Linked DNA regions of Homo sapiens: all the other regions are linked to region 7. The links are contacts of gene promoters, found by promoter capture Hi-C in blood cells and fetal thymus (Javierre and others, 2016). All regions are on one chromosome and are shown on one strand. Each heading gives the region's core, a stretch centred on a gene start or on the middle of the fragment in contact. The rest is flanking DNA. Distances are from core to core; before and after follow the strand shown.

Region 1 (2,956 bases), core at 378-2,877, 690 kb before region 7:
ATACCACATAAAACAGAAATGGGTCAAAGATATAGATAGATAGATAGATAGATAGATAGATATAGAGATATGTACTAAAACCACAGAGTACTAGAAGAAAACACAGGGAAATTCCTTTATAACCTTACAGTAACTCAAAATCCAGAATCTATTAAAACTAAAAGAATACAACAGCATAAAAATTTTATAAATCCTGCAAGGCAAAAAGCACCAAAGTCAAAAACATCACACCAAGTGAAATGCACCAGCTCCAAAGGACATATGTATGATTCCACTAATATGAGATACCCAGAGTAAGCAAAGTCATAAGGACAGAGAGCAGAGAACAGAGATGAGCAGAGGCTGGAGGGAAAGAGGAACCGGCAGCTATCTCTTCATGAGTATAGAGTTTCTATTTGGGATAATGAACAAGATTTCTGGAAATAGATAGTGGTGATGGTTGCACAACTGTAAACATACTTACACTGAATTATACACTTAAAAATTGTTAAAATGGTACATCCTGTTAGGTATATTTTACCACAATAAAAACAAATGAGGGTGACCAGAAAAATAAGCAATTTTAAAAAAAGACAAATGACAAATGAGGGTGGAAGAGTGGGCAACATTTGCATCTCGCATCACAGAAGAGTTTGCCACCCTAACACATGAAGAAATCAGTGAGAAAAAAGGCCAATAACCTAACCCAATTTAAAAATAGGCAACAGATGCAAACAGTTCACAGAAAGAAAAATTGCCCTTAATCATATGCAAAAATGTTCAACATCACTCAGAGAAATGCAAATTTCTATTTGCAAATGTATTATATACACTGAAATATATTTTTTATCTATCAGATTGGGAAAAAAGTTAGTAACACACTCTCATGGGAAAGCTATAAGTTCCCCCTTGTATTCTACTGGCAGGAATATAAATTGTTATATCTACGACTGAAGGCAATTAACAATATCCAGAACAATACCAACGCATACGCCCTTTCATCAAGCAACTCCACTTCTGGGAATATATATATCCTCCAGATATGCTAGCACATGTGGGAAACAGACATGTACAGGTTACGGTAACATTGTGTGCAATATCAAAAAGTCAGAAACAACCCAAATGTCCATTGATAGGAAACTGGTTAAATAAATTATGAAATTTTTTTCCGTACAATGGAAAATTATACACTATAAAAAACAAGAACCTCTGTTTGCAAATATACAAAGAGTTCTAACATATAAAATTAAGAGAATAAAGCAAACAGCAGAATAGTGTATCTACTACACTTCTTGAATTAAAAGGGAAGGGGGAATAAGAATATTTATATTGTATAAAGAAACACTGGAAAGATATATAAGAAATTCATAAAAACTGTGACTAGTGAGAAACGAAGGATGGAGTAAGCAGGCAACTGAGGCAGAGGGGATAAAAATGGAAATGAGATATTTTATTGTACTTTTTAATTTTGATTTGAGATACATGAATGATTTCTTCTTAAAATTGTTTTAATAACTTGATAGAGGTTTCTAATTCAAGGGTATATATATATTAGTTAGAACCCAAATAAATCCATATGTATGTCATTATATGTGTGACTTCTATCTGAAATGAAAAAGAAAACCCTAAATACTTATCTCTAGTTAATTAGATGCACACTGAAGTATTTAGGAGGAAGTGAACTGGTATCTGCAACTTAATGTGAAATGCACAAGAAAACGTGACGGATAAGTACGTGAATAGAGAGGTGGACAGATACATATAAAGCAAGTAAGATGTTGATTGTAGGATCTAGATGATATGCATAAGGATGCTCAATATAAAATTTTCAGTTTTTCTGTTTAAAATGTCATAACAAAACATTAAAAGATGTTTTATTAAAATTCTAAAACTAGAGAACTCATGAATCAATAAATGAGCAACTCAACAGAAAAACAGGCAAAAAATACGTGTTTAATAGAAGACACAAATGTTGTATAAACATATAAAAGGCTGTTCAATCCTACTTGTAATCAGGGAACTACAAACTTTTAAACCACCTTGAGATACCATTTCTCAGCTGTCAGGCTGGCAAAAATTTTAATCAGTACCAAGTGTGGAAAAGGAGGTGGAAACAACCTAAAACCCAAGCGTCCATTAATATTACAATGGGCACCAAACTGTGGGATAGTCACATGACGAAATATACTATGAAGCAGTGAGAGTGAACAAACTACTAATGCCCTCATCCACAGAAAAGAATCTCAAAATACATTTTAAGTAAATGATGCAAGTAATTTAAAAATCAGTAAGATTTTAACTACATTAAGTTCAAAAGCAGGCTAAACAGTATATTGTTTAGCTACAGAGATATAATTAAATTATAAAAAGCAAGGAAATAATTAATGAAAAAATCAGAATAATGGTCACCTCTAGGGAGAGATTGCAATTATAATGAAAACAAGGTATTGCAGGTGGTTTTCAAGGTACTTCTAATGTTCTGTTTCTTAACCTAGATGGTCAGTTTCATGAGTGTTCATTATTATTCTTAATATATGTTGTTATATATACTTTTGCAAATACATTCTACAGTAAAAAGTTTCTTTTTTGAGATGGAGTCTCGCTCTGTCACCCAGGTTGGAGTGCAATGGCACAATCTCAGCTCACTGCAACCTCCACCTCCCAGGTTCAAGCGATTCTCCTGGCCTCAGCCTCCTGAGTAGCTGGGACTACAGGTGACCGCCACCACGCCTGGCTAATTTTTGTATTTTTAGTAGAGACGGGGGGGTTCGCCATGTTGGCCAAGCTGGTCTCGAACTCCTGACCTCACGTGATCTGCCCACTTCGGCTTCCTAAAGTGCTGAGATTACAGGAATAAGCCACTGCACCCAGCCAAAAGTTTCTTAAATATGAAAATGATGAGCACATTGCCCATTTTTAAGGATTAAACATGAATTCGTATAATATTAACATAAACATTCAAATGAAATTGTTTAAT
Region 2 (3,101 bases), core at 599-3,098, 670 kb before region 7:
CTGTAGGAAGCCATAAGTTGGAAATCAACGGGCCTGGCTTGAAGTGTGGCCTTAGGCAACACCGTTCTCATCTACATCTGGATTCTCCAACAAAGCTGGTAGGACTCAGAGGTCACAGTCCAACTGTCTGGAAGAAAATTTCAGCTGAAATTTGTTTTTGCCTAACCCATACGATAAGGAGGAAGGAGAAAAGAATGTGAAGGAGAGAGATTTGGGGTCCTTTTAGGCAAGGCAAACATTCTCATGTTACCACTGGGACCACTTCTCTTATCTGCACGATCTACATCCACTGGTCCCTTAAGGCATCTGAGTTTGCCACTCTGGACTAGAATATTTTCATGTCCCTTCTTTTTGTTTTTGTTGTTGTTGTTGCTGGGGTGTTTGTTTGTTTGTTTCTTTGTTTTGAGACAGAGTCTTGCTCTGTTGCCTAGGCTGGAGTGCAATGGTGCGATCTCAGCTCACTGCAACCTCCGCCTCCCAGGTTCAAGCAATTCTCCTGCCTCAGCCTCCCAAGTAGCTGGGATTACAGGTGCCTGCCACCACACCCAGCTAATTTTTGTATTTTTAGTAGAGACAAGGTTTCACCATATTGACCAGGCTGGTCTCAAACTCCTGACCTCAAGTGATCTGCCTGCGTCAGCCTCCCAAAGTGCTGGGATTACAGGCATGAGCCAATGTGCCCGGCCTATTTTTGTGTCCTTTCTGTTGATGGTGTTTGGTGCTGCTGAGGTCTCTACTTCCATAGGGCTTTCGTCCCCAGGCTCTGTCCTGTCATACGTTCACTGAATCAGTGCCGGGGCCTGACTTCATCTAAGGGATCTTCATCCAAGTCAAGCCTGACAAATGGGGCTTATCTCAATTATCATTTCCTATCAATTGGGAATGGCTGCTTAGAACATTGCGTTAAAGCTAATTCTGAACTTATATTCAGGCTCACCGGGAAGAGAGATATCTGCCAGGGGATAAGATGGGGAGATAGTGTCATGGTGCTATTATTTGCAGTCCTTGGTGAACCAGCCTCTCATTTTACAGGTAGTAGATGAAGGCCCAAAGACAGTAAATTACAAGCCCCTGTCACTCAGGAGATGGGCCGAGACCCTGATTCCAAGCCAAGACTCTTTCCACCTCTGTTAAAATGGATTCCCCAACTGAAATGCTCATCATCTCTGCCTTCCAAATCCTCCCTTCATGGAGGACCTAGTCAAAGTCCTTTACAGACATGTCTTCACAGAGGGCTCCAGCCCTCACTAATGACCTCTCTCAATCCACCACCCCACAGCCTCTTCCATCCAGCCTGGTCCTGGGTTCATGGAACTAGCGGTTGTGTTACTGAGCAGGTTCCAGGAAACATAGCAGTGTACAAGAGAGATGCCACACTCCCTCTGGCAAAAAAAAAAAAAAAAAAAAAGGCAAACTAAAATACTCATTAGATGATCACTTACTTAATTATGGCTGTGGTAAGCCTCAGAAGAAGAATCTCTCTGAGCATGCCTAAAGGGAGGTTGGCCACTCAGGGAAGGCCTGTTTGAGGAAGTCACCTTTGAGATGAGATGGGAAAGATAACTGGCAGGCAGGAGTGAGGGGGAACACTCCAGAAATAGGAAACAGGAAAGTGCATGACCTGTTGAAGAAACTGGAAGAGGCAGAGCGCAGACAATGAAGGCACAAAAGAGCCTTGGGAGCCAAGGACAGGGGTTGTTCTCCATCCCAAGAGCAATGGGAAGTTGTGAAGGGTTTTGCAGGGAACATAACACTGGTTCTTTTTTTGTTTTTTGTTTTTTGTTTGAGATGGGGTCTCACTCTGTTGCCTAGGCTGGAGTACAGTGGCACAATCATAGCTCACTGCAGCCCCCGTCTCCTGGGCTCAAGTGATCCTCCCACCTCAGTCTCCTGAGCAGCTGAGACTACAGGTACGCACCACCATGCCCAGCTAACTTTTCTCTTTTGAGTAGAGATGAGGGTCTCACCATGTTGCCCAGGCTGGTCTTGAACTCCTGGCTTCAAGTGATCCTCCTGCTTTTGCCTCCCAAAGTGCTGGGATTACAGGCATGAGCCACTGTGCCTGACCTAACACTGATTCTAAGCTGTCTTATGTAGTTCTCTCATTGCACACAGCGGGACCCTAACATAAAGCTATTGAATTGAATGGAGCTTTCCCCACGGAGGACGGTGAACTCCAGGTAGCCTGCTAGGGGCATGGGACATAGAGTAACACACCGTCAGGACTCAAGGGAACCTGCTCAGTGGCACCGGTCATGATTATTGACTAGACCCTGCTCCATGCTTCCCAGTGCCTACCACGGGGTACCTCCTACTTGCAGTCTCTCCAAATTTGGTGTCTCTTTTATATCCTACTGCCTTCTCAGCATCTCCACTCAACACAGCCAAAAGCGAACTCCTGATATTCACCACCACCACCCCCTGCAATCCCTCTGCACTCCCCATCTTAGTAAATGGCAACTCCCAGATGTCCATCCAACCTCCCATGGTTCCAGCCATTTTCCCACTAATCCTGTGAATATGGGCATTCAGAATGAACACCAGGCCAAGTGGCTAACTGGACCAGGTATCCGCACAAGCAAGGATACGTCACAGGCGCTTTCTCCACAGTAGCCCAGCACAGTGTTTTGATCCATGGATAACGGGCTGAGGTCTTCCATCTCTGAGATGTGCTTATCTCTTAGGGAAGGGAAATTCCAAGTGCAACTGAACATTCTGTCTGAGGACTTTTACTCTGACCACCTAAAAGCTCTTTTTGATAAGATAAAGGGGATTACTTTAATCATCTTTAAACTAATCCAGCCGAACTATAAATCCATGCTCTCCCATTTGAGCTATTTGCTGGTATCAATGACAAATAATTTCTATGTTTGATTTTTAAAACACACACAGAAAGCTCTTTATTAAAGGGAACTTTCTGCTACATCTGGATCCCATTTTGGGCAGTTGATGCATTAGGGATTGTTCCATGTCCCAGGGAATCTTCCTCCTTTACCAAGGAGACACAAATGATGTCAGAAAAAGGGTGACTCATTCTTATAAGCTGCCCCAACTTCTATTTTCTGCCCCCTTTAATAAAGAAAGTGGATCCTTCCTTCATT
Region 3 (2,813 bases), core at 223-2,722, 720 kb before region 7:
CTTCTCAAAAAAATAAACGAGTGACAGCAGTAACTTGCTGTTATCAAAGAAAAAGAAAATTTAGCTAATATAGATTTTTATCAGGAAATCTAAAGAATATTATATCAATGCTACAAGGTTTGTTTTTGTCAAAGTATTCTGCAAATAAAATGGCCGCCACTTTATTCTTCTTCCTACTTTAAAAATGTTAACATCCCATATTAACTTCCTAATTCTTATCATATGGCTACAGAACTGGCAGGCTACTCTCAATTTAGCCCAGTCTACAATCCTCAGAGCCTAAAGATTCTTGGTTCAATTTCCAGAGCTTAAAGATCCTTGCAATGTTAAGGCTGGGCGTGGTGGCTCATGCCCGTAATCCCAAGCACTTTGGGAGGCCAAGGCGGGTAGATCATTTGAGGTGAGACGTTCGAGACCAGCCTGGCCAACGTGGTGAAACCCCCGTCTCTACTGAAAATACAAAAAAGAAAGTTAGCCAGAAGTGGTGGTTCACACCTGTAATCCCAGCTACTCAGGAGGCTGAGTCAAGAGAATCGCTTGAACCTGGGAGGCAGAGGTTGCAATGAGCCCAGATTGTGCCGCTGCATTCCAGCCTGGGGGACAGAGTGAGACTCTGTCTCAAAAAAAAAAAAAAAAAAAAAAAAAATCTTAAGTTGTTCCACTTTGGAAAAAATTGCATATATGAGGGCAGCAGTGCTGCTACTGAAAATCGTTTTTTTAAAGACAGTAGTTTTATGACTGCCTTTACCTACTAAAAGAAATACAGCACATAACAGCCAATGGCTTTACTGCAAGTTATGTTGTTTGAGACATGCACAAAGATTTCCCAGATACCCTCTGTATATCTATTCCATTGTACCAATATCATTCACCTTTCTGGACACAGAAACATGAGACAACATTCAAAAGCTTAAAAGGAGTATGTCATAAAAAGCAAATCTCCCTTTCAATCCTGACCCACAGTCATCCAGTTTCTCTACTCAGAGGCAGATGGCAGTTTCTTTCACACACACTCACACGCACACACACACACACACCGGTATGTGTCCCTGCCTCATGGCACTATCTATACCTATTGCATTCTTTTTAAACTTACCAGAATAAGGTTGAGTCTAAGTAACAAGAATTGTAATGACCCTGGATGCCTTTCTTCTTCCCAATCATTATCTCCAAGCCTTCTTTTTCCATTTTTGGTGGAGTATTTTCTTCTACTACTTCACTTAAGTAGCCTCCAAATGCTGAAAAGATTTTTTTAAAAAAAGTAAATGAAAAGAATTCTTTTAAACTATTACAATATGTATTCCCATAAATATTTTTTCATTTTAAAATGTTTTTGTATTTTGATGCAAAATTTTTTCTTTAAGTGGAAAGTAGGCTTTGGTTAACTGCTATTTGACTTGGCTTATAAAAATTGCTATTGTTCATTTTCAACTTCATTTCCTCCAAGATTTAAAAACACACTTTAGAGTATTATGTGTAAAAAGCATCTGTCAAGTAAAATATGTTTCCCAAATATTTCACTATTTATCTGAAGTTGCTTCACTTTCAAGTTTGAAAAGAAAATGAAAATTCCAAAGTACTATTTCAACATAATAAGAGTGTTTTTCATAAAGATGGCTTTCCTGTTTGCACCTGCTGAAGCCCCAAGATGCTTTTCCACTATTATGTAGAAGTGGAAAGGAACAGCACCAGGAAACTGCCACCAATTACACATGATGAGGAGAGCTGTCCTCCAGCAATCAGTTGAAATCTACTTCTTACACTAAAATGCTGATTTCTTTGTAAGATACACTCACTGCTGTAAACAAGACACTGTGAGGGAAGTCAGTAAAAAAAAAAAAGAAGGTTACATTTCAATTTCTACCACTAGTATTGCTGAAAACTAAATGTCTGTCATCAACAGGAAGAGAAAAACAAACCACACTATTATTCACTTTATAAGTCCCAAACGCACGTCCTAATACTTTTTTAAGATGTCCCCTCTTAAAACAACTTTCTTATACACCATGCAACATTTTTACTGATTTAAAGCTTAATGAGCGTTGGCAAGAAATATATTAAAACACTGTCACCATCACCTAATATAACATGATATGAGATTAGAATTAGAGTCATTCCAGGTTGTTAAGTAAACAAAAAGCATCCAAATACCTAAAGAGTTACAGCGCTCAATCTGATTGGAAACCGGCTGCAATGATGCAAACCTAGAGTCAGGCCTGCAGCTCTTCAGTTTCACAAACAGCGCCTTCTTCAGGGCACAGGTGAAATACCGAGTGCCTCTGAAGGTTCCATCCGTACAGCCTGCACACTCATCTTCCTGAAAAAGAAATGCTTCAATATGCATTATACCGTGCCTTACAGAGATAGTATACAAAGAACTAAGGTTTCTAAGACCTGTTTCTAGTATACCCTTTCTCACCACTCCCTCTTCGCACCTGTACTGAGAACCTCATCAAGAAAAAGGAGTTGAGTAATCAGTGCTTCAGCCCACAGCTACTGATTTAAGAAGTGACTTCCTTAATCCAGCATGAAGTCCTTCTTGTATTTCCTTTCAGAATATATGCTTCAACCTCCCCTGGTTAAACGGGCTTTCCCGCACCATTTCTACAAGCATTAAAACAGGCAGGGAAGGAGAAGGCTATTTATTTTAACCCTCATTCTTGCCTCCCCACCATGCCCCATAAGATAGTATTCACTAGCATGGAAACAAACAAGAAAAAAAAAAAAAGAAATATATTTAAATTGGCCAGGTGTGGTGGCTCATGCCCATAATCCTAGCACTTTAGGAGGCCAAGGCGGGCAGATCACTTGAG
Region 4 (3,071 bases), core at 83-2,582, 740 kb before region 7:
ATCATGATTGCCTTAGAAAAATTTCCCAGCAACAGAATTGCTGGGGATGAGGTATGCACAATATGAAGGCTTTTGAAAACCAAGCACTCGTGTATCGGGCACCTACATGGCTCACAATTTGTGCAAAATGGGTTAGGGGTAGCAGGCAGAGAAAGAACCAAAGCAAGAGAAATCAGCATTCTGAGGGGGGGGGTCTCTGCACACACCAGACCCAGACACCATGGAAGTGCCACATGGGGAAGGGGCTTCCAAAGCACTGAGCCACCCTGAACGTCAGAGCTGGAAGGGACAGCACAGACTCTAATACAATTCTCTGTATTAGGAATGGGAAAACTGAGGCTCAGAGAGGTGCCACCCAGGAAGGGGGTGACCTCAGTACTGGAATCTTTCCAACATGGCTGTGTGCTTTGCTTGAAGTGAGCCCTGCTCTGGGAGAAGGGCCCGAGGTGGCAGGCCGAGCCTTGATATGAAAGTATAAACCATTTTCCCCCACCTCCCAAGCAGAGGTGGATGGGAGGGGGTGAGGAATGCTGAGGAGGCCTCCAGCCGGCCTCACACAGGTAACAGCAGCAGTAGTGACCCATTTGAGCCCCCATGGTGTGCCAGATGCTGGTCCCAGGACTTTGGGTCTGTTATCACTGAAACCACACACAAAATGAGCGACAGGGGCACTGTGGTTTTGTCAGAGATGCTTGCTCTCATTTGCACAGAAAGGAGTTCATGCAAGTCTTTTTATTATTATTACATGTCACCGCAACAGGGTATTGCAGTGGGGGAAAGAGACTGGACTCAACTCCCCACTTATGCAAGTCTTAATCCAAGTGGAATCTCTTCTCTGGATTTCTAGAGTGGCAGGTGAGGGGGCGGGAAGCCTCTTCTCCATAATGGCAGTGGTTCTCACACTTCAGCGTGTGCCCGATTCTCTTGGTGGGAAAAGGGGGAAGTGTTCAAAATGCACATTCCAGGGCCCTACCCTGAGAGCTTGATGCTGTAGATTTTGCACAGGGCCTCCAAGACCAAATTCTCTTTTTTAGAGACAGAGTCTTGCTCTGTCGCCCAGGGTGAAGTGCAGTGGTGTGATCATAGCTCACTACAGCCTCCAACTCCTGGGCTCAAGTGATCCTCAAGCCTCAGCCTCCCAAGTAGCTAGGACTACAGAAGTGCATCATTACACCTGTCTAATTTTTATTGTTATTATTGTATTTTTGTAGAGACAAGGTCTTGCTGTGTTGCCCAGGCTGGTCTTAAAGTCCTGGCCTCAAGCCCTGCCCGCCTCAGCCTCTCAAAGCGCTGGAATTACAGGTGAGAGCCACCACGCCCAGCCGGAGCCTGCATTCTTAAATGTCCCTGGATGACTACGACGCAGGTTGGTCCAAAGACCCCTCTCTGGGAAGCACTGAAGACAGTGTGGTTGATTTTCACATTGGGATCCTGACAAAGTAACCTGTACTAAAGTTAACACAGTAGATATGAGGCTTACACTGAGAAAGGGTCGCAAATAAAGGGAGGTGACATCAGAATCCTATTACGTACCGACATTCCCCCCATAAAGCCACAGATTTGTAATTCATTCATTCCTTTGCAGATTCCGGGACCTCACAACCGACCTTACGGCATTCGCCCAGTAGATGGCGCTAGCTCATTTTAAACCCCGTTTGTAGACGGTGCCTGAAAGCTCAAGACAGAGGGAGCAGCAGATGCAGAGAAAGGGCAAGACAGAGCCCATTATGAGAGAGGACAGCCACAAACAGAAATGGTCAACACTAAGCAGCTGTCCCGAAATGACGCAGAGGAAACTTAAACCCTCTTAGGGTGTAGTGTGTAATCTGGTGTGTTGGCCCGACTGCCACATTGGCTTTCAAAATCCCTGCTGCCTCCCAAGCCTGGGTTCTGGCTGCGGCTCGGAGTTTGGGAGCTTAGATCTAGGACAGCGCCATAACCAGTAATGACCACAAGATGGCGCTGCTGCACTCAGGGACAAGATGCCTGAGAAAAATCTCAATCTCATAAAACCATCTAAAGGATAAAGAGTGTGGCTTAAAATAGGATCGTGGAGGGAGATGAGAGGCAGAAAGAGAACTGCTGATTAGACTTGCACCCTGTCTCTCAAGTTCATGTTTACGATATTAGTACTAATGCTGCTGCTGCTGCCACTGGTGGCTGCTGTTTACTCAGGGGCTACGGAGTGCCAGGCACTGTGATAAGCACTTTCCGTGCATGGTTTCATTCAAAGTTCATCAAAGCCCTAGCAGGGGAGTCCTACGATGTCTCCACTTCTGAGAGGAAGCATTATTTGGGGAACTAGAGACTGAGACGTCTTGTGCTTTCTCAAAAGAAATGGGGACAGTAATCTAATTCTGAGCACACTGACAATAGACAGTGGGGCTTCCACGAATAAAAGGCTGAAACAGCCTGGACAACATAGCGAGAGCCCCCTCTCTACAAAAATGTAAAAAGCCAGCTGGGCATGGTGGTGTGCACCTGCAGTCCCAACTACTGAGGAGGCTGAGGCGGGAGGTTTGTGCCAGGCACTGATCAAGGTGGTAAGGAAAGACAATTAAAGGGACTAGGGGAGGTCCTGAGGAGCCCACGATAAGCCATGCAGCCAGGGGATCAGTGCTGTGGAGAAAATGAAGCGCACAGGAGTCTATATGTGCCTGTAGGTGTGTTTGAGATGATGGCAGAAGTAAACTGGAGCTGGCATCCATGGCTCACAAGAGCCCATTATTAAATTTTCAGGAATTTTGCGAGTCAGTTCTTGGATGGATCTATTATTGAATTATTAAGCTAACAAAGTATATAAACTTACAAATTATATAAACTTAAAATGAAATTATACTTAAAATAAAGGTAACAAATACTCGCAACTCATTACTTCCTAATTATTTTATATTTTACCATTTTCTGTGCCAAAGGTAAGCAAACTGTTTCTGGGAAGGGCCATTTAATGACTGCGTGAGCCATAAGGGTTCAGTCAAAACTATTTGACTCAGCCATTGTAGCACAAAAGCATTGATAATATAGACTGAGCATCTCTAATCTGAAAAATCTTAAATGCTCCCTAATCCAAA
Region 5 (3,187 bases), core at 413-2,912, 660 kb before region 7:
GTGCTCTCCTGGTCTGCTCCATTTCAGACATCACTAATTGATTGCGGTGCTCTTTCTTTTTTCTTTTTTTTTTTTTTTCTACCCTTTTTAGACATCACTAATTGAATGCAGTGCTCTTTTTTTTTTTTTTTTAGCTTTTTTAGACATCACTAATTGATTATAGTGCTCTTCTTTAAGCCCAGGTGCAGCCTTAGAATTCTTTTTAATGTGGTGCACTGGGCACCCACTACCAATGGATTGGAATTGGTCCTTAAGATAAAATGTACCTGATCCAGCCCAATATCTTCAATTTACAGATACTGTATCAAAACCCTGAGAGGACAAGGGACATTTCCAAGTCACCCAGAAAGACTCGAGTGTCCTCTCTTGAAATCCAATGGTCTTTTTTCCTTACTCCATTGCCTAACATTGTGGGGTAGAAATAAAGTTCAAAGACCTTCAGAACTGGCCCCAGCTCCTCCCTCTTCACCTGATCTCCCCAAGAAAACTGCAGGATAGACTCTGAAGCTTACCTGAGCCACCTCAAGCTCTGGTGATCACCCAAGGCTTCAGCCAGGGCCTGGGCCCCCTCGTCACCCACTCTGTTGCCCCAGAATCTGAAAAGGCCAAAAGAGTCAACAGACAGTGTCAGTGAGTACCTGATATGTGTTCTAGACATGAACTAACAGTCCTCCTCCCTCTGCAGTCCCAGCCAGAGGGGCAGGACCACTCAATCCCAGAGTGGCCTCACTGGGGCTCCTGGTCCCAGCAAAGTGGACCTGCCTCCATCTTTTGGGTGGGATGGCCAAACTTAACCCAAGAGTTTTCAGTGGCTTTACATTACAGACTTAGAGAATAGTAGAGGGCTACCCAGCCCTAACCCTTAAGGACAGGAACTCACTGACAAGAGTAATTTACAGTTGTGACACTTTTTCTGACACTTAGTTCAGATACGCTTCCTGGTAACTGCCACCCACAAGTCCTTAGCTACCCTCCAGTACCTGCCCATAACAAGTCTAACACTTCTTCTGCAAGCTAGCTCTTTATCTCCTGCTTCTTCCTAACACCCCTAATTCCTTCACGCCATCAGCTTCAACTCCCCCAGCTTCTGGGCCATCCTCCTCTGACTCACTGTAGTTTGAAAACATCCCTTTCCAAAAGGTAGATCCCAACTCACACCTTCTGACTTATTGACTGTATTCTAGGGACCTACCCTGGACAGGTATGTACACAAGTTAGCAAAGAATGGCTGAATTAGGATGTCCACTGTACTTTCATTCATTAGGTATGTATCGATTGAGCTCTGGCTATGTGCCAGCACTGCTCTGTGCCCCAGGGATATGACACTGTAATAACAAAAAACCTGAAAACAACTTAATAGTCATCAAAAAGTGACCAGTTAAATACATTATGTAACACTCTGCAGCTCTTTGAAAAATGAGGTCAGGCTGAGCAAGGTGGCTCACTTGTGTAATCCCAATACTTTGGGAGGCAAAGGAGGGAGGATCACCTGAGCCCAGGAGTTTGAGACCAGCCTGGGCAACATAGTGAGACCCCGTCTCTACAAAACATAAAAATATCGGCCAGGCATGGTGGCTTGTGCCTGTAGTCCCAGCTACTCAGGAGGCCGAGGTAGGAAGATCACTTGAGCTCAGGAGTTCAAGGCTACAATGAGCTATGATTGCAACCACTGCACTCCAGCCTGGGTGACAGAGTGAGACCCTTTCTGTAAATATTAGTAAAATAAATAAATAGATAATTAAGTAAATAAAGAGGTCATAATGACCTAAAAAAATTCCTATAATATATGGCGAAGCAAAAAAAAACAACAACAAAAACAAAACAAAACAAACAAACAAACAAAAAAAAAAACCAAGCAAGTTACAGAACACTTTGTATCATATGACAGCGTTTGGGGGTTTTAGCACAACGCCTGGCCCAGACAGGTGCCCTAATAAATATGTGTTGAAAGAGGTAAATACCCCTGATGTGGCAGATGTGACCTCAAGCAGAAGAGAGTTCAGTGGGGCTGTGGCCTCCTTTGTTCTAGACTCTGTTGCTACTAATGCAGTGTGGAAAAGATGTTGATTTCTAGAGCAACATAGTCCCATTTGTGGCTCAAACTGAGCTTGGGGGCCGGGTGCGGTGGCTCACACCTGTAATCCCAGCACTTTGGGAGGCCGAGGCGGGCGGATCATCTGAGATCAGGAGTTCAAGACCAGCCGGGCCAACATGGTGAAACCCTGTCTCTACTAAAAATACAAAAATTAGCTGGGCGTGGTGGTGGGTGCCTATAATCCCAGCTACTTGAGAAGCTGAGGCAGGTGAATCGCTTGAACCAAGGAGGCGGAGGTTGCAGTGAGCCAAGATCGTGCCACTGCACTCTAGCCTGGGCAACAGAGTGAGACTACATCTCAAACAAAACAAAACAAAACAAAAAACTGAGCTTGGGGGCAACTTGCCTCCCTGTGAAATGGGCTGGAACACCTAGGCCCTAAGGTTATTCTCTCTTCCTACAGTCCCAGGTTCTAAAACTCCCAGTTCTTGTCAAATGGACTCCAGTTCACACTAGGGCATGACAGGATAGGAGAGAGGCTGCTGGAAACAGCACAGGTGCAAGCCTGGGTGCCTAGCAAACAGAGGAAGCCCACCCTGGGGCTGCAGGTTGGGGTACTCCCCTCCCTGGCAGGCCCTAGCATGGTCCTACAGGGAGCAAGAGCTCCGAGGGACCTAGCACAGCCCCTCTTATCCTGGGTGCCTTCCTATCCTTCCCCATTTCCTTCTCTTTCTTAGGTCAGGGGTCCTCACCCCTGGCTGTACATCCCCTGGGAAGCTTTTTAAAACTCCTGATACCTGGGCCTTGCACCTAGATATTTGCATTTCATCAGTCTGGGGTGGGAGGCCTGGCAATAGTGTTTAGAAGCTTCCAGGTGGTTTTAATATGCAGCTAAAGTACAGCCCTAGCGCCCCCTGAGGATCAGAGGGCTTCCTGTCACCAGCTCGTGGGCACTGTCCTCCCCTAGCCCCAACATCCCAAACTTCCTGTTTGTCAGGCATAGACCAAGTATGAAGGTGGCAGTCAAGGGCCGCCCACTCTCTCCCTGGCTTGTCCTCCCCACTGGAGCTGGGCTGCCTCTGGGGCCTCCTGGCTGAAGAGTTTCACCTGCCCCTAAATCCTCAAAAGTCCCAAGCCCCTCCATGCAGGTCC
Region 6 (2,962 bases), core at 449-2,948, 760 kb before region 7:
AATTAATAACTTCAGCCTCCACCTTAGGGAACTAGAAAAATGTGGCTCACGCCTGTAGTCCCAACACTTTGGGAGGCTGAGATGGGTGGATCACGAGGTCAGGAGTTTGAGACCAGCCTGGCCAATGTGGTGAAACCCGTCTCTACTAAAAATACAAAAATTAGCCAGGCATGGTGACACGCACGTGTAATCCCAGCTACTCAGGAGGCTGGGGCAGGAAAATTGCTTGAACCCAGGAAGTGGAGGTTGCAGTGAGCTGATATCACACCACTGTGCTCCAGCCTGGGTGACAGAGCAAAACTCTGTCAAAAAAAAAAAAGAAGAAGAAGAAGAAAAGAAAGAGAAGAGAAGAAGGAAGGAAGGAAGGGAGGGAAGGAGGGAGGGAAGGAAGGAAGGAGGGAGGGAAGGAAGGAAGGAAGGAAGGAAGGGAGGAAGGAAGGAAGGAAAAGAAAGAAAGAAAAAAAAGGAGAGAAAATTAAACCAAAATGGAAGAAAGTAAATAAAAATTAGGACAGAAATCAGTAAGATAAAACATGAGAAAATAGGAAAAATCAATAAAGCAAAAACCTAGTTCTTTGAAAAGGTCAATAAAATCAACAAACCTTTAGACAGTGATCAAGAAAGAAGACAGAAAACACAAATTGCCAATATTAGGAATGAAAGCAGGTACACAACGATAGACCCTATGGAAATCAGAATGTTAAAGAGGTAATATTAAGGGTGACTTTACCAACAAATTTGACAATTTAGATGAAATGGAAAAAAGCCTTAAAAGACACAAACTACCAGGGCTTATCTGACAAGAAATAGCTTTTCATATAACTTTTAAAGAAATTTGATTCATTGTTTAAAACCTTCTCACAAACAAAACTTCGGGCTCAGATGGTTTCACTGGTGAAATCTACCAAACATTCAATGAAGAAACACTACTTTTCTATAAAGCAGAAGAGAAGGTAATACTTTTCAACTCATTTTGAGGCCGACATTGCCCTGATATCAAAACCAGACAAAGATACAACAAGAAAACTACAGACAATGTCACCCATGAACATAGACTCAAAAATATTTATTAAAACATGAGCAAATAAAATTCAGCAAAATAAAATAAAATAAAATATATAGAAAGGATACTACATCATGACTAAGTGGGGTTTAACCCAGAAATACAAGATTGGATTAACATCCAAAAATGTGTAAATTCACCACATCAATAAGCTGGAAAGAAAATGAAATGATCATCTCAAAAGATCTAATAACAGAGATTCAAAAAATTCTCATTATCTGTCTGGTGAGGACCTGGTTAATATTAAAAAAAGACAAAAACTAAAGAAAAAAATTCCCATTTTTACCACTTCTGTTCAACATCGTACTAAAGGTTCTAACCAGTGCAATAAGGAAAGCAAAAGAAATAAAAAACAAACATATTCAAAAAGAAGAAATAAAACTGTCTTTATTTATAATCAATATGATCATATATATTTAAAGAAATCTACGTGAGTTTAGTTAGCATGGTCACAGGTTGCAAGATCACTGTACAAAAATCAATGACATTTCTGTATACTAGAAATTAACAGTTGAATATTTAAATTTAAAAAAATTACAGTTGCTTCAAAAAGCATGAAATAATTATGGATAAACCTAATGATATCTATGCAGGATTTATATGCTGAAAACTATAAAACATTGCTGAAAAAAAATTTTTATAAAAGACCAAAATGAATACAGATAAACCAGGTTCATGGATCAAAAAACTCAGTATTGTTAAAATGTCAATCCTCCCTGCAATAGTTAATTCTAGGTGTCAACTTGGAGGATGTTTTTGAATGAGATTAGCATTTAAATGGGTGGACTTTGATAAGCGGATTGCATTTCTTCATGGGGGTGGATCTCATTCAATCAGTTGGAGCCCTAATAGAACGAAAAGTTCGACCTGCCCTAGCAAGAAGGAATTCTACAGCAGACTGCCTCCAGACCTCATCTGCACCAACAGCTCTCCTGGGTCTCAGCCTGCCAGACCACACTGCAAATTTGGAATTTCCAGCCTCCATAATCATGTGAGCCAATTCCTTATAATAAATATAAATATATATATGTTATACACACACACACACACACACACATACACACACACACACATCCTGTTGGTTCTGTTTCTCTGGAAAACCTTGACTAATACACTTCCCAAATATTTCTGTACATCCAATGTAATCCCAGTCCAAATTCTAGCTAGCTTTTTGTGGACATTGTCAAGCTGATTCTAAATTTACATAAAACAATGAATGACCTAGAACAGCCAAAACAATTTCAAAAAAGAACAGCAAAGCTAGAGGATTAATGCTATCTAATTGCAGATGAGATGGTGTAGTGTTTGCATAATGAAAGTCATATAGATCAATGGAATGGAATGAAGAGTCCAGAAATAGACCTACACCTCCATGGTCAATTTATTTTTGACAAAGTACCAAGGTAACTGAATGAGGAAATATTGTATTTTCAATAATAGTGCTAGAAAATGGGGCATTCATTTCAAAAGAAGTGGAAACTTAACCCTTATGTTGCACCATATACAAAAAGTAACTTGGAATGGTTCACCCACTTAAATGTAAGAGCTAAAGATTTAAAACTTCTAGGAGAAAATATACATGACCTGGGTTTTGACCAATAATTCCTAGATAGAAAACAACACGCTTAAGTCATAAAAAAATGATAAATTGGACTTCATAAAAATGTAAAACTCTGCTCTTCGAAAGATATTAAGAAAAATGAAAAAAACAAGTCACAAATTGAGAACAAATGTTTGCAAAACACATATCTGATAACTGTATGCATTCTCAATGGAGGTGATATCATTGAGGGGGCAAAAATTTGTTCTTGGTGGCTAAAAATTTTAGATATTATAATGATATGTGAGCCTGCAAAGGATCATGGTATATAAATAGATATATGATATGGCTGTTATTTA
Region 7 (2,881 bases), core at 194-2,693:
CTCTCACCCTGCACATCTCCTTTCACAAGTCATCTAAAGAGCACCTTTTTTTTTTTTTGAGACAGGGTCTTGTTCTATCACCCAGGCTGGAGTGCAGTGGTGTGATCATAGCTCACTGCAGCCTCGAACTCCTGGGCTCAAGCGATTCTCCTACCTCAGCCTCCTGAGTAGCTGGGATTACAGGCACCCACCACCATGCCCGACTAATTGTTTATAATTTTTCTACAGACGGGGTCTTGCTATGTTGCCCAGGTTGGCCTTGGACTCCTGGCCTCCAGTGATCCTCCTTCCTTGGCCTCCCAAAGCAATGGGATTACAGGTGTGTGCCACCGCGCCCGGCCCAAGAGCACCCAATTCAAACTTCCCACCCCCAACTCATCATCATCTCGTTTTCCCACAGCAATTCTCACTATTTAATATTATGTTTTACCTTTTTACTAGCTTCCTGTCTGTCTCCCCATCAACATGACTTGTGCCAAGACAGGGATCTTGGCTGTCAACAGATCTCGCTCAAAAGTCTTGGCTGCTCAAAGTCCCCTGCATCTAGAACGATTCCTGACACATGAACTGAAGAGTTCATCCAAGCAAGGGACCCTAAGGAGGGCTTTTGGAGAGTGTAAAACGTGCGCAAGGCGTGAGGGCAGGACGCCTGAGCAGGTGGACGCTGCAGGTGAAGCAGCCAGGTGGACAGATGAGATGCGGGGATACTGGGCTTCTCCGGAGCCTGGAGACTGGCTTCAAATCTCTGCAAACGGGAGACCGGGCCAGTGCCTGATGGCACACAGAAGGCGCTGGGTGACCGCTGCGACCGCCCGCAGCCCAGACGCGGGGGAGGCCAGCGGTGGGCACCGCCCCGCACCCTTCCTGGCTCACCTCAGCGCGCCGGCTGCAGTCTCCCTGACGGCCAGGCTGGGGTCTAGCAGCAGCGGCCCGAGGCGGCGCACGGCGTCTCGTCGCGCCAGGCCCGGGAGTGCCGGCCGCTGCTGCACCAGCCGGGCCAGCCCTGCGCAGGCGCACTCGCGGACCTCGGCGCTCGGGTGCTGGAGCTGCGGATGAGAGCGAAAAGGGTCAGAAGGCGCGCAATGCGCACGCGCGCGGGGCAACCTCGTCTCGCCTCCCGGCCCGACGGAGCCCTCGCCTCACCTTTTCCAGCAGCTCCGCCGCCGGCCCGTCGTCCTCCTCGCCTCCGGTCCCATTCGCCGCCGCAGCCGCCTCGGCCTGACAGTCGCCCGTAGGGGAGAACTGAGGTCGCTTGAAGCGCTTCGTCCGGCTCTTGCCCATGGTGACGTGCGCTGGGCGGACAGACCACCGAGAGAGGAGGGCAACAGCAGGCGGTGGAGGCTGCCGCGCCGTTAACAAGGTCCGTTGCTGCTGCTCAGCTGGGCCGGCTGACGGCTGCAGCACACATGGGCAAGCCGTGCGCAGGCGCACGGCGCGTCGTCTGCCGGGTCGGGGTTGGGGCGGGGCGGGGTGGGGGGAACTGGCGCACGGAGCGCGCAGGCGTGGAAGAGGGCATAGGCGGGGCCAGCTTCGGCAAAGGGGCGGAGCCTTGTGGGTTTACCGGGTAAGTAGGAGGTTGGACTAGAATAGTAACGCCGACCCGGGCGAGAGGATCACTTGAGGCCAGAAGTTCGAGACCATCTTGGGCAACATAGGAAAACACTCCACTCCCTGTCCTCCCCACCAAAAAAATTAAAAATTATCTGGGCATAGTGGCGTGTGTGTGTAGTCCCAGCTACTTGGGACGTTGAAGCCGGAGGATCACTTGACCCCAGGAGTTTGAGGCTGAGGTGAGCCGTGATCCTGCTACTGCACTCCATCCTGGGCGACAGAGCGAGACCCTGTCTCAATCAATCAATCAAGCAACCAATAAGTTAGTAACACCGGCTACAAATAATCAAATGTGATTAAGAATACCTAACTTGCAAGGTTATTGTAAGTTCTGTAAAGTTCATAAAGTTCTGTAAAGTGCCTAACACCAAGCCTGATATATAGCAGGTACTCAAAAAGCATTAACCACGATTTTATTTTGTGTCCCCAGCACCTCCCATAGCTCCTGTCGTAGACAGAGACTAGTTAATGTTTTGGAACGAATGTGTGTCTATATTTGATAAAACAGAATCGCTTAAGAACCTAATCTCCCTGCCTTAGTTTCCTCATCAGTGAAGTGGGGACATCGATAGTATATACCTCATGGAGTTGTTACGAAGACTAAATGTGTTCATATGTTTAAGGTGCTAAGAACAGAGACTGGCAGATACTAAGCACTATGTAAATGTTTGGAAACGTATTTAACAAAGAGATTCTTTTGCAGATATTTGTTGAGTACTAGGTACAGTGCTGGGCATTGGAATAAAGCAGTAATCAAGACAGTTTGGTTCCTGTCCTCTCTCCCTGTCCTTATGGAATTTACAGTCCAGGGAGAGATCTGTTGAATATATAATTATATGAATAACTTTGGTTATAATTGTGGTAAATACTAAGCAGAGGGAAAAGTACAGGAGAATCTTAGGTGGTCTTTATAATTAGACATGTAACGAGTGAGTACTCAATATATGCATAGCTTTGGGTCAATTTTCTTTTTTTCTTTTTGTTTTTGAAACAGAGTCTCACTCTGCTGTCCAGGCTGGAGTGCAATGGTGCGATCTCGGCTTATTGTAACCTCTGCCTTGGAGTTCAAGCAGTCCTCCTGCCTTAGCCTCCTAAGTAGCTGAGATTACAGGTATGTGCCACCATGCCCAGCTATTTTTTTTTTATTATTATTTTTAGGAGAGACGGGGTTTTACCACGTTGGTCAGGCTGGTCTCGAACTCTTGATCTCAAATGATCTGCCTGCCTCAGCCTCCCAAAGTGCTAGTATTACAGGTATGAGCCACCACGC

What was found. The method cuts DNA at HindIII sites, captures the fragments that hold promoters and counts their contacts. A CHiCAGO score of 5 or more calls a contact.
Region 1: a fragment that was not itself captured here is called in contact with the fragment with the promoter of HEATR3 in region 7 in 8 of 17 cell types (naive CD4 T cells, naive B cells, neutrophils and 5 more); the score reaches 11.0 in naive CD4 T cells.
Region 2: a fragment that was not itself captured here is called in contact with the fragment with the promoter of HEATR3 in region 7 in 8 of 17 cell types (neutrophils, monocytes, naive CD8 T cells and 5 more); the score reaches 10.8 in neutrophils.
Region 3: a fragment that was not itself captured here is called in contact with the fragment with the promoter of HEATR3 in region 7 in 5 of 17 cell types (naive CD4 T cells, activated CD4 T cells, non-activated CD4 T cells and 2 more); the score reaches 9.5 in naive CD4 T cells.
Region 4: a contact is called between a fragment that was not itself captured here and the fragment with the promoter of HEATR3 in region 7, in 9 of 17 cell types (naive CD4 T cells, total CD4 T cells, naive B cells and 6 more). The highest score is 11.8, in naive CD4 T cells.
Region 5: a contact is called between a fragment that was not itself captured here and the fragment with the promoter of HEATR3 in region 7, in 8 of 17 cell types (neutrophils, naive CD4 T cells, naive B cells and 5 more). The highest score is 16.4, in neutrophils.
Region 6: a fragment that was not itself captured here is called in contact with the fragment with the promoter of HEATR3 in region 7 in 5 of 17 cell types (non-activated CD4 T cells, naive CD4 T cells, total CD8 T cells and 2 more); the score reaches 7.0 in non-activated CD4 T cells.

Annotation. Positions count from the first base shown.
Region 1 is chr16:50,758,853-50,761,808 of GRCh38, reverse strand. All of the region lies in intron 5 of CYLD (CYLD lysine 63 deubiquitinase), which reads right to left. Among named protein-coding and RNA genes, the nearest start is that of CYLD-AS1, 18 kb to the right of the region's middle. The HindIII fragment of the contact is 8,236 bases long and covers 1-2,956 here.
Region 2 is chr16:50,737,677-50,740,777 of GRCh38, reverse strand. It overlaps CYLD-AS1 (CYLD antisense RNA 1), which reads left to right. Exons shown (of 7, transcript NR_184279.1): 3 at 1-98. Among named protein-coding and RNA genes, the nearest start is that of CYLD, 2.9 kb to the left of the region's middle. The HindIII fragment of the contact is 5,372 bases long and covers 1-3,101 here.
Region 3 is chr16:50,780,750-50,783,562 of GRCh38, reverse strand. CYLD (CYLD lysine 63 deubiquitinase) reads right to left here. Exons shown (of 19, transcript NM_001378743.1): 10 at 2,152-2,317; 11 at 1,097-1,238. Among named protein-coding and RNA genes, the nearest start is that of CYLD-AS2, 21 kb to the left of the region's middle. The HindIII fragment of the contact is 1,122 bases long and covers 912-2,033 here.
Region 4 is chr16:50,805,270-50,808,340 of GRCh38, reverse strand. LINC02168 (long intergenic non-protein coding RNA 2168) reads right to left here and starts at 1,669. Exons shown (of 2, transcript NR_146573.1): 1 at 1,534-1,669; 2 at 712-923. The HindIII fragment of the contact is 6,211 bases long and covers 1-3,071 here.
Region 5 is chr16:50,720,031-50,723,217 of GRCh38, reverse strand. NOD2 (nucleotide binding oligomerization domain containing 2) reads right to left here. Exons shown (of 12, transcript NM_001370466.1): 8 at 513-596. Among named protein-coding and RNA genes, the nearest start is that of CYLD, 20 kb to the left of the region's middle. The HindIII fragment of the contact is 2,305 bases long and covers 510-2,814 here.
Region 6 is chr16:50,825,988-50,828,949 of GRCh38, reverse strand. No RefSeq gene overlaps it. Among named protein-coding and RNA genes, the nearest start is that of LINC02128, 13 kb to the left of the region's middle. The HindIII fragment of the contact is 4,535 bases long and covers 1-2,962 here.
Region 7 is chr16:50,064,532-50,067,412 of GRCh38, reverse strand. It overlaps HEATR3 (HEAT repeat containing 3), which reads right to left and starts at 1,443. Exons shown (of 15, transcript NM_182922.4): 1 at 1,144-1,443; 2 at 874-1,046. The coding sequence starts at 1,281. It overlaps HEATR3-AS1 (HEATR3 antisense RNA 1), which reads left to right and starts at 1,089. Exons shown (of 3, transcript NR_186390.1): 1 at 1,089-1,360; 2 at 2,606-2,722. RefSeq lists silencers at 721-980, 1,061-1,110, 1,441-1,490 and an enhancer at 1,341-1,635. The HindIII fragment of the contact is 22,013 bases long and covers 1-2,881 here.